3 separate regions of the Homo sapiens genome follow, and regions 1 and 3 are each linked to region 2. Evidence: promoter capture Hi-C in human tissues and cell types (Jung and others, 2019). All regions are on one chromosome and are shown on one strand. The core of a region is centred on a gene start or on the middle of the fragment in contact, and the rest is flanking DNA. Distances in the headings are between cores, read along the strand shown. Region 1 overlaps DLG1 (discs large MAGUK scaffold protein 1). Region 2 holds the start of FYTTD1 (forty-two-three domain containing 1). Region 3 holds the start of MIR4797 (microRNA 4797).

Region 1 (2,700 bases), core at 12-2,511, 510 kb after region 2:
TTTGAACACTAATAATTCTTACATTTTTTTTTTGAGGTAATTTTCTATATCTTATAGGCAATCTTTGTTGCTTTTCATTCTTTTTTCTCCTATGTGTGTTTTCATAGCCTGTCTCTGAGCCTAATGATTGTTTACTCTGCTTGATCCTCTCTTATGTCAAGAGCCTCTAATGAATCAGTTCAGCAAGTGTATTTCTCAGTTCCAAGATTTCTGTTTGATTTTTTTCTTTTCTTTTCTTTTGGTGTTATGACTTGGATAATTTTAAAAAATTACTTTAATCTCTTTTTAAAATTTCCTGATAAATTTCTGAATTGCATTTCTGTGTTATCTTGGAGATCACTGAGTTTTCTTAAAAATACTACTTTGAATATTGGTCAGAGAGCTCATAGATCACTATCTCATTAGTGTCAGTTATTGGTTCCTTGCTTTGTCCATTTGGGGAGATCATGGGTACCTGTTTTCTGTTGTTTGTTGTGGCTGTTTTATTCAGCCTTCTCTGTCTGGCTTGTTTTGGTTTTTACTGGATGTATTTGCTTAGAAGTTCTTTACTGTTAGGTTGCTGCCTCCTTTTTAGCTCTCTCTAGTTACCTTAAGCCCAGGTTCACCTAGGTTCTAGTAAAGAACCAGAGCACTGTTCTTCCCGAATGAGGGAGATTCCAAAGGGGATGTCCCAGTAGTGTGGGAATGCTGGCTAGGAGTTCCTGCCCAGGGGACCTGTACAATAAACCTTCTACAGATGGTGTTGATGAACATCTAATGAACATCTACTCTGATTCAGTGTCTTGCTTGGCTGAGTTACAGTAGAATTTCCAGAGCTGGAGATGGTAGTCTTGCCTCCCTTTTTTGTTTCTGCCTATCCGCAGGGATATTTTTCCCTTCTGGCATTTGAGATGCATCCTGTGGGCTAAGATAAGGGACAGTCTCCTGCCAGAGAACATTAGATGATGGGGAAGCATGAGTTATATCTCAGTCTCACTTTTTCCAGTGTAGAAACAGTGAGTTGTGGGAAAATTTTTTGCCCATTAGGTGCTGGCCAGAATGAGGGGAGGGACATCATGGATGTGGAAGTCCAATTCTTTCACCATCTGCTAGAATTCTTTTTTTTTTTTTTAACTTTTCTGTGGCCCCTGAACTGTCGCATCTTCATATGAGTTCTGGGATATTCCTGGTAATAACATCGGCTCTGTATATTTGTTTTTGGTTTTCTGTGAGAGGAGTGAAGCCAGCTTGCTTCTGTGCTGACATTTTGGAACTGGAAATCCTCTTGATTAATTTTTGTATGTTGATTTATTCTATATTCCAGGAATAAATCCCAATCCCACTGGGTCATGGTGTGTAATCCTTTTAATATGCTGTCAATCTGATTTGCTAGTATTTTATTGAGGATTTTTGTATCACTGTTCATGAAGGATATTGGTCTGTAGTTTTCTTTTCTAGTACTATCTTTGGCCTTGGTATTTGGTAGCGCTGGCTTAATGAAATGAGTTTAGGAGTGAGTAGTCCCTCCTCCTTAATTTTTTGGAAAAGTTTGAGAAGGATTGGCATTAATTTTTCTTTAAATGGTTGGCAGAATTCACCAGTGAAGCCTTCAGGTCCAGGACTTTTCTTTGTTGAAAGATTTTTGATTACTTATTCAGTGTCTCTGCTAATTATAGATCTATTTAGATTTTCTCTTTCTTCATGGTTTAGTCTTGATAGGTTTTGTGTTTCTAGGAGTTTTCCATTTCATTTAGGTTATCTAGTTTGTTGGCATTTACTTGCTCTATATAGGACTCTGTTATCCTATTTATTTCTCTAGAATTGATTGAAATGTTCTCACTTTCATTTCTGATTTTAGTAATTTGAGTCTTCTTTCTCTCTTAATTCCATATAGTTAAAGGTTTGTGTTTTTGTTTATTTAAAGAAACAACTTTTGGTTTCATTAAGTTTTTTCTTCTGTTTCTCTGTTCTCTATTTTGTGTATCTCTGCCCTCATCTTTATTATTTTTTTCCTCCTGCTAACCTTGTGTTTCGTTTGTTCTTGTTTTACTAGTTCCTTAAGTTTTAGACTAGGTTCTTGATTTGAGATCTTTCTTGTTTTGTAATGTAAGCATTTAGAGCTATACATTTACTCCTTAGCACTGCTTTCACTTTATACCATAAATTTTGTTATGTTGTGTTTTTGTGTTCATTCATATGTAAATATCTTCTAATTTCCTTTTTGATTTCTTCTTTGATTCATTGCTTGTGTAAGAGTGTGTTTAATTTCCACAAATTGGTGAATTTTCCAGTTTTCCTTCTATTACTGATTTCTGACTTCATCCAGTTGTAGCTGGAGATGATAGTTCATGTGCTATATCTATCTTTTCAAATGGATTGACATTCTGTATGGTGTCTCACAGATCCCTTAGGCTGTATTCACTTTTCACTTAAATCTTTTTCCTCTGTTGTTCACATTGAGTCTTTAGTGTTATTGTATTTTCAGTTCTGTCATTTCCATATAGTTCTTTGTGTCTTGTATTTCTTTGCTTAGACTTTCTATTTCTTTGCTGTGAGTTTTTATTATTTCATTTGTTTCATGTATATTTGTAATTGTTCATTAATTTTTTATATGACGCCTACTTTAAACTCTGTTAGGTAAGTCTAACATCTGTGGTGTCTTGATGTTGGCATCTCCTGATTGTCTTTTTATATTCAGTTTGAGATATTCCTGGTTCTCAG
Region 2 (2,700 bases), core at 74-2,573:
AAAAACGTTCCAGATAAACCACAACAAAAGACACACAAGACAAATGGGAAGAAATGAAAACCGAAAGAAGGTTTCCAAGACAGTTATCACTCTAAAGACCGTCCTGGGAAAGGGTACGCCTCGGAATCCACTAGTCAGGTACTTTTCAAATATCCGAAAAACTGCCAGCCAAACACCTGGCAGAGCTGACTTACACCCAACGCCATCACTTGAATCCCGACAAAAATATTCGTACTTTTAGCCCACCTAAGCTAACCACAGCGGCTGGTGCCTCGGTAGTGTCAGGGCTGGATTTTAATGGAATCACCAACCTCCCGGTTTTTATATAATCGGCAAGAAACCACGCCACCCTCTCAGATGCGCTCAAGAACCCCACGCTTTACCTGGCTTCTCAGCGAGCCACAGCAATCATCTCTCCTTCAAAGATGTTTGCTTTCTCCCCCATTAGCTAGCTCTGAGGCCTGGAGAGGGAGACTGTGCTTTTCTAGGCAGCGCTCAATACACAACCACATCCCACAGGCGGCCGAGCGCTGCTTCCTTTCTGACAGACGCTCCGGGGCCGCGGCCGGAGGTGGCCCCGAGAGTCGCGCCCGGCAGCCATGGCCGGCGCCGGCCTGGAACGCCCGGCGACCAGGGAAAGCTCCGGAAGCGCTGGTTTAACCGACCGCAGCCCCGGCCGGGCTCTCCAAGACCTTTCTTCAGAGAGAACGGCTCGGTCGGACCATTCCCCTCGCTCCCCGATAACGCCCACCGCGAACGCGCTCCGGGGAAACCGGCAGATCTTTCCTCACAAAGAGCCGGCGAGCGGCGAGCCGTAGCCCCTCCGGGGAGAAGAGACGCCCCCCGCGACCCTGCGAACCTTCGGGCCCGCAGCGCCCCTGCCCCCGCCTCCACAGCCCCTCCTCCGACTGCCGCGGCCGAGGGGACGCCCGGGTCCCTCGCGGTCCAGCCGGGCACCTGGCGTCGAGCCTGCGCTCCCGGCTGTCCTCCGGGCCTCCGCTCGGGTCCGCCCACCAGCGAGAAAACTCCGCCGGCAACTGCTGCCGACCGCCCCTGCCCCCACAAACCGCGCCGCCGGCTTCCACCCGCGCCCTCCCCCGCACTCCAACTCGGTCCAACTCGGCCCCTCACCCAAAGACATATCTATTTTGTCGAGGTTTTCATTGCTGCGGGCCTTCGGCGGCGGCGAAGAAGTCGCCGTGGCTCCCACCAACCGGGTACCAAACCGGTTCATGGCTGGAGACGTCGCGCCGAGAGCGGGCGCGGACAAGGCCGGAGTCGCAGGCCTGCCACCTCCCACTCGCGCACGCAGCCCGCCGCACCGAGGGAGCGCGCACGCGCCGGCGCCGTCCTCGGTCTCCACCCGCGGCTGCGGGCGGGGCGGGGCCACCGACACTCGCGGGCGACCAGAGCGGCCCCGCGCCGTGACTCGCTCCTAGCGGCCCTCGCAGGATCGGACGAGGCATTGCAGCCGCTGTGCTAGGCGCTCGCGAGGACCGCCGTTGTGAGCAGTTCGACTTTCCGCCCAAACTGGGGGATGCTAGACCGCGGGCACCTCTGAATCTTATGCCTTCAGTGATATAATCCTCCGTGTCCTTCGAGTCCCTCCTGCTGCAGACAGGTCCCCTATACTTCGGTACACACGAGCCTTTCGCGCCCACCGCAACGCAGCCTCGGGAGGCAGGACAGACCCCTGCGAGTGTAGATTGCAGCTGCATCCCAGCTCCCCCCTCCCTGGCACGCTCCTCCACCTACAGCTGCGCTGAGCTGCCGCATCTGAACGCAAAGCAAACGCTGCAGTGACGGTTCCTGCGTCACCTTAACTCCAAAGTAAATGCTAACGTTTCCCGTGTCTGTACCTTCTCTCAATCGGCACTCTCAAAACATCTGGCACGGTGTTCACTACCCTAATAAGACCTCAGCTTCCCTCGGGAGGGGTAAGTACCTCTGTTGATGTAGCTGCATTTTCTTCTAATTCATTTGCATTGGGAATGGATAGAAGGGTTCGTTTACTTTTTAATCATCCCTACGGGAAAACAGTTTAATATTTGATGAATTCCTGCATGATAACTTTTTTCCGTTTACAACATACGGTATTTACCTCTCTTCTTACCTCATTCTCCTTCCCTGAAGTAACTGCGTTTATGTGGAAGCGTTTAGGTTATATCACCCTCATACAGCTTAAAACTATCTCGGATATTTACATCTAAGGACAATACCAGATGCATTCTGTCCACCTAGAAATCTCTGTCGCCTTTCTCCTCTCCAATTCATAAAATGCAAAAATTCCTTTAGCATGGAAACCAGCCATCTCAAAACCACAGTAGCCTTTGCTTAATTTAGTCATGTCACAATGTCATGTGGCTTCCAACTTCAACACCAATGACACATTTACTATTTTTTGCTTGGGGATCCCATGTTTTAAAATATTTCTTATGCATGTCACACTTAAAAATTAAAGCCAGCTGTTCCAGCTCCCCTTTCCAGGCCTGAATTTAAAGCAAAGCTTGCAGTGACAATTTTGCGGTCACCTTAACAATAAAAGTAAATGTGAACGTTTCCTGTATATGTAGCATGGATAAAACCAGGAGTCTTCACACAGATTATGTTTCCAGCTGAACTCAAAGAACCATGACTTTTTTGTAAGCCTAGTAGTCTTATCTTGGGGAAATGTATGATTTTTGTTAGGCTTTTGGGAAT
Region 3 (2,700 bases), core at 43-2,542, 460 kb after region 2:
CTTTCAGGATTATTTCAGTGGCTTTTGAGAACATTGTTTCACATCTTAATAGCATTAACTATTAAAAGATGTTGCACAGATGTTTAAGGACCTAAAAGGTATGACTGAGTTACTGTGAGCTTGTTTCTGTATTTGACTGGCATGTCTCTGAAGTCATTGAAAGCGTGTGAAGGGTTCTGCTGTGTTGAAGAACATTCATTCCCTTAATGTAGATTTCTGTTTGAGCTTGGCATTCATGGAGTCAGAATTTTAGACCTGGAAAATAATCTTAGAGATGATCTTGTCTAGTAACCGTATTTTACAGGCAAGAAAATGGAAAGTTTTATTCTTAATTGTAACTTAATTTGAAGTGGTGCATTGTTTGAAAGAACTGGAAAAATAAGAGTCCTGAGTTCTTTTGCCACTAATTGAATGATATATCCCAAGTCATTTAATCTTTTCTATGCCACCATATTAGCTGTAGAATGTAGCTGTTGAAATGACAGAATGGGTTTAAAGCCTTTTTTAAGTAGATAAATCATTTTTAAAAGCATCATCTCATATTTTGTGTATAATCTCCTATGTATAAAACAAGGTGACTTGTCTGGCTCTTTTGTCCAGGTACCTCAAAAAGTTTGCAAACCACCGAACTAGAAAGTTTGTCTCTTCCAATTCTAAGAATGAAGTTTTTTTTTTTTGTTTTAGTTATCAACTATATAACATTTTAACATAAGAAGACATATACTTAATTATATTACATTTATTTCTTCAGTAACTTCCAGTCAGATATGGCCTTACATCTATCTGTTGATAGAATAATTGTTGGTGTGATTTGAAGACTACTTTCAAGTCAGTGTGTCCTGTCAGGTACATTATTGATAAATGGATGCTCTCTACGGTTTTAGAATGAAAGATTTTTGTAAAGACCACTTGATGCACCTGAACAATTTTGAAAAATGTAACATTTTAATAGACTTTTAAAAACATAAGGATACATAGCACAGTGTAATGAACTGCCTTTTAACTGTTACCCAGCTCCAGAAATTCACATTTTGCCATTTTTGTTTACATTGATGGACATTTTTTACACATTTGAATTTCTGAGGTTTAAGGTCCGAATGGATGATCAAATTGGATTCCTCTGGAAAAACAGCAAAAAGCATTTTTTAGTTATTTGTTTTCTAAATCAACATTGAGCCTAGTAATTTGGTGCAGTTACTGTTGCAAAAAAAGTATGTTTTTTCGCAACAGTATAGAGATATATATATACATATATGTATAGATAGGCAGATAGATAGACTGCAGACTTTTCTTTGTGTGATGGCTGTAACTTAAGAAAATTAAATCGTTAGTGAAATAACAGAATCTACATTTATATTTCTGTCTAGATTGGGGATGGGTTTGCTGTGTTCAGAGACATTTTTGACCTATTCTGCCTTGCCTGTTTTGAATGTGTCTATTCTTACGTACAATTGAACTTTGATAGAGTTAGCTTTCTTCTCTTTTTTTTTTTTTTTTTTTTTGAGGCAGAGTCTCACTCTGTCACCCAGGCTGGAGTGCAGTGGCGAGATCTCCGCTCACTGCAAGCTCCGCCTGCCAGGTTCACGCCATTCTCCTGCCTCAGCCTCCTGAGTAGCTGGGACCAAAGGTGCCCACCACCACGTCCGGCTAATTTTTTATTTTTTGTATTGTATTTTTAGTAAAGACGGGGTTTCACTGTGTAAGCCAGGATGGTCTCGATCTCCTGACCTCGTGATCCACCCACCTCGGCCTCCCAAAATGTTGGGATTACAGGCGTGAGCCACCGCGTCTGGCCTAGAGTTAGCTTCCTAATTACTAAGTTTATATTTGTGAATCTTCTAATTTCATTGGTTGTGAATTTACTTTGACATTTAAATTTACTTATATTTAATGTTCTATAGGATGTGGTACTATATCACATTTTGGTGTAAGACAAGTAATAGATTTTAGGAGTTTTGAAATAGATAACGTTTAATAGAGGTTCTGTGTGTTTCCATGCTATAATTGTTGATACTACGGAATAAATACATTCTCTTGTGTTTCCTGAATAACTTTTAATACTTAGTCTGAAAATGTTTAGTCTGATAAGATTTTCTTTGTATTTTGCAACTCTACCATTGTTTTGAAACAGTGTCATAAATGTACTTTAAGCTTGTAAACTGCCCTAAGCTAAACCAGTTCATTGTGTCCATAGTGTTTGCAGAAAAATCCGACTCAGAAGACAGAGTGCCACTTACTGAAAGGTTTTTTCTCTCAGTAAGTGGCACTCTGTCTTCTGAGTTGGTACCTGTGGACCACTGGATTAAAGGAGAACAGGGGTCTTGGCCACCTGAGCTGTTTGGAGTCATTGAGTGCTTAGATTTTTCACTTCCTTAATTTGGAAATCACTTGTTTAGGCCGCAGTGAGTTATCTAGTTATCTGTTTGGGGTGCCAAGTGTCTTTGGATTTTCAGTCTGCATTGATCATTTATTGATTGATTCTTTGAACTGGTAGTTTATATTGACTTTTCATGCATTTAAAAAAGTTTGAGTCTCTAGGGGTTTGGTGTCCCCCCCTGTAGTTGATACATAGATTAGGTTCCTGTACTTTTGGATTATTCAGAGGGACAAGCATGTACGTACTGTATTATATTTGTTCTAAAATACCAACTGTTAAATATTTCAATATCTGGTATATGTCATTTTTAATTGACAGTGTTT

What was found. The method cuts DNA at HindIII sites, captures the fragments that hold promoters and counts their contacts. A contact is called where the count stands out against the background at its distance.
Region 1: a fragment that was not itself captured here is called in contact with the fragment with the promoter of FYTTD1 in region 2 in 1 of the 25 tissues and cell types used here (lymphoblastoid cells).
Region 3: a fragment that was not itself captured here is called in contact with the fragment with the promoter of FYTTD1 in region 2 in 2 of the 25 tissues and cell types used here (H1 embryonic stem cells and lymphoblastoid cells).

Annotation. Positions count from the first base shown.
Region 1 is chr3:197,238,255-197,240,954 of GRCh38, reverse strand. All of the region lies in intron 4 of DLG1 (discs large MAGUK scaffold protein 1), which reads left to right. Among named protein-coding and RNA genes, the nearest start is that of MIR4797, 54 kb to the left of the region's middle. The HindIII fragment of the contact is 5,787 bases long and covers 1-2,700 here.
Region 2 is chr3:197,748,506-197,751,205 of GRCh38, reverse strand. It overlaps FYTTD1 (forty-two-three domain containing 1), which reads right to left and starts at 1,323. Exons shown (of 9, transcript NM_032288.7): 1 at 1,132-1,323. The coding sequence starts at 1,234. It also overlaps a transcript of RUBCN not described here. RefSeq lists silencers at 817-1,086, 1,187-1,526. The HindIII fragment of the contact is 9,451 bases long and covers 1-2,700 here.
Region 3 is chr3:197,293,460-197,296,159 of GRCh38, reverse strand. The region is part of intron 3 of DLG1 (discs large MAGUK scaffold protein 1); the gene reads left to right. It overlaps MIR4797 (microRNA 4797), which reads left to right and starts at 2,212; the gene lies at 2,212-2,282. The HindIII fragment of the contact is 6,857 bases long and covers 1-2,700 here.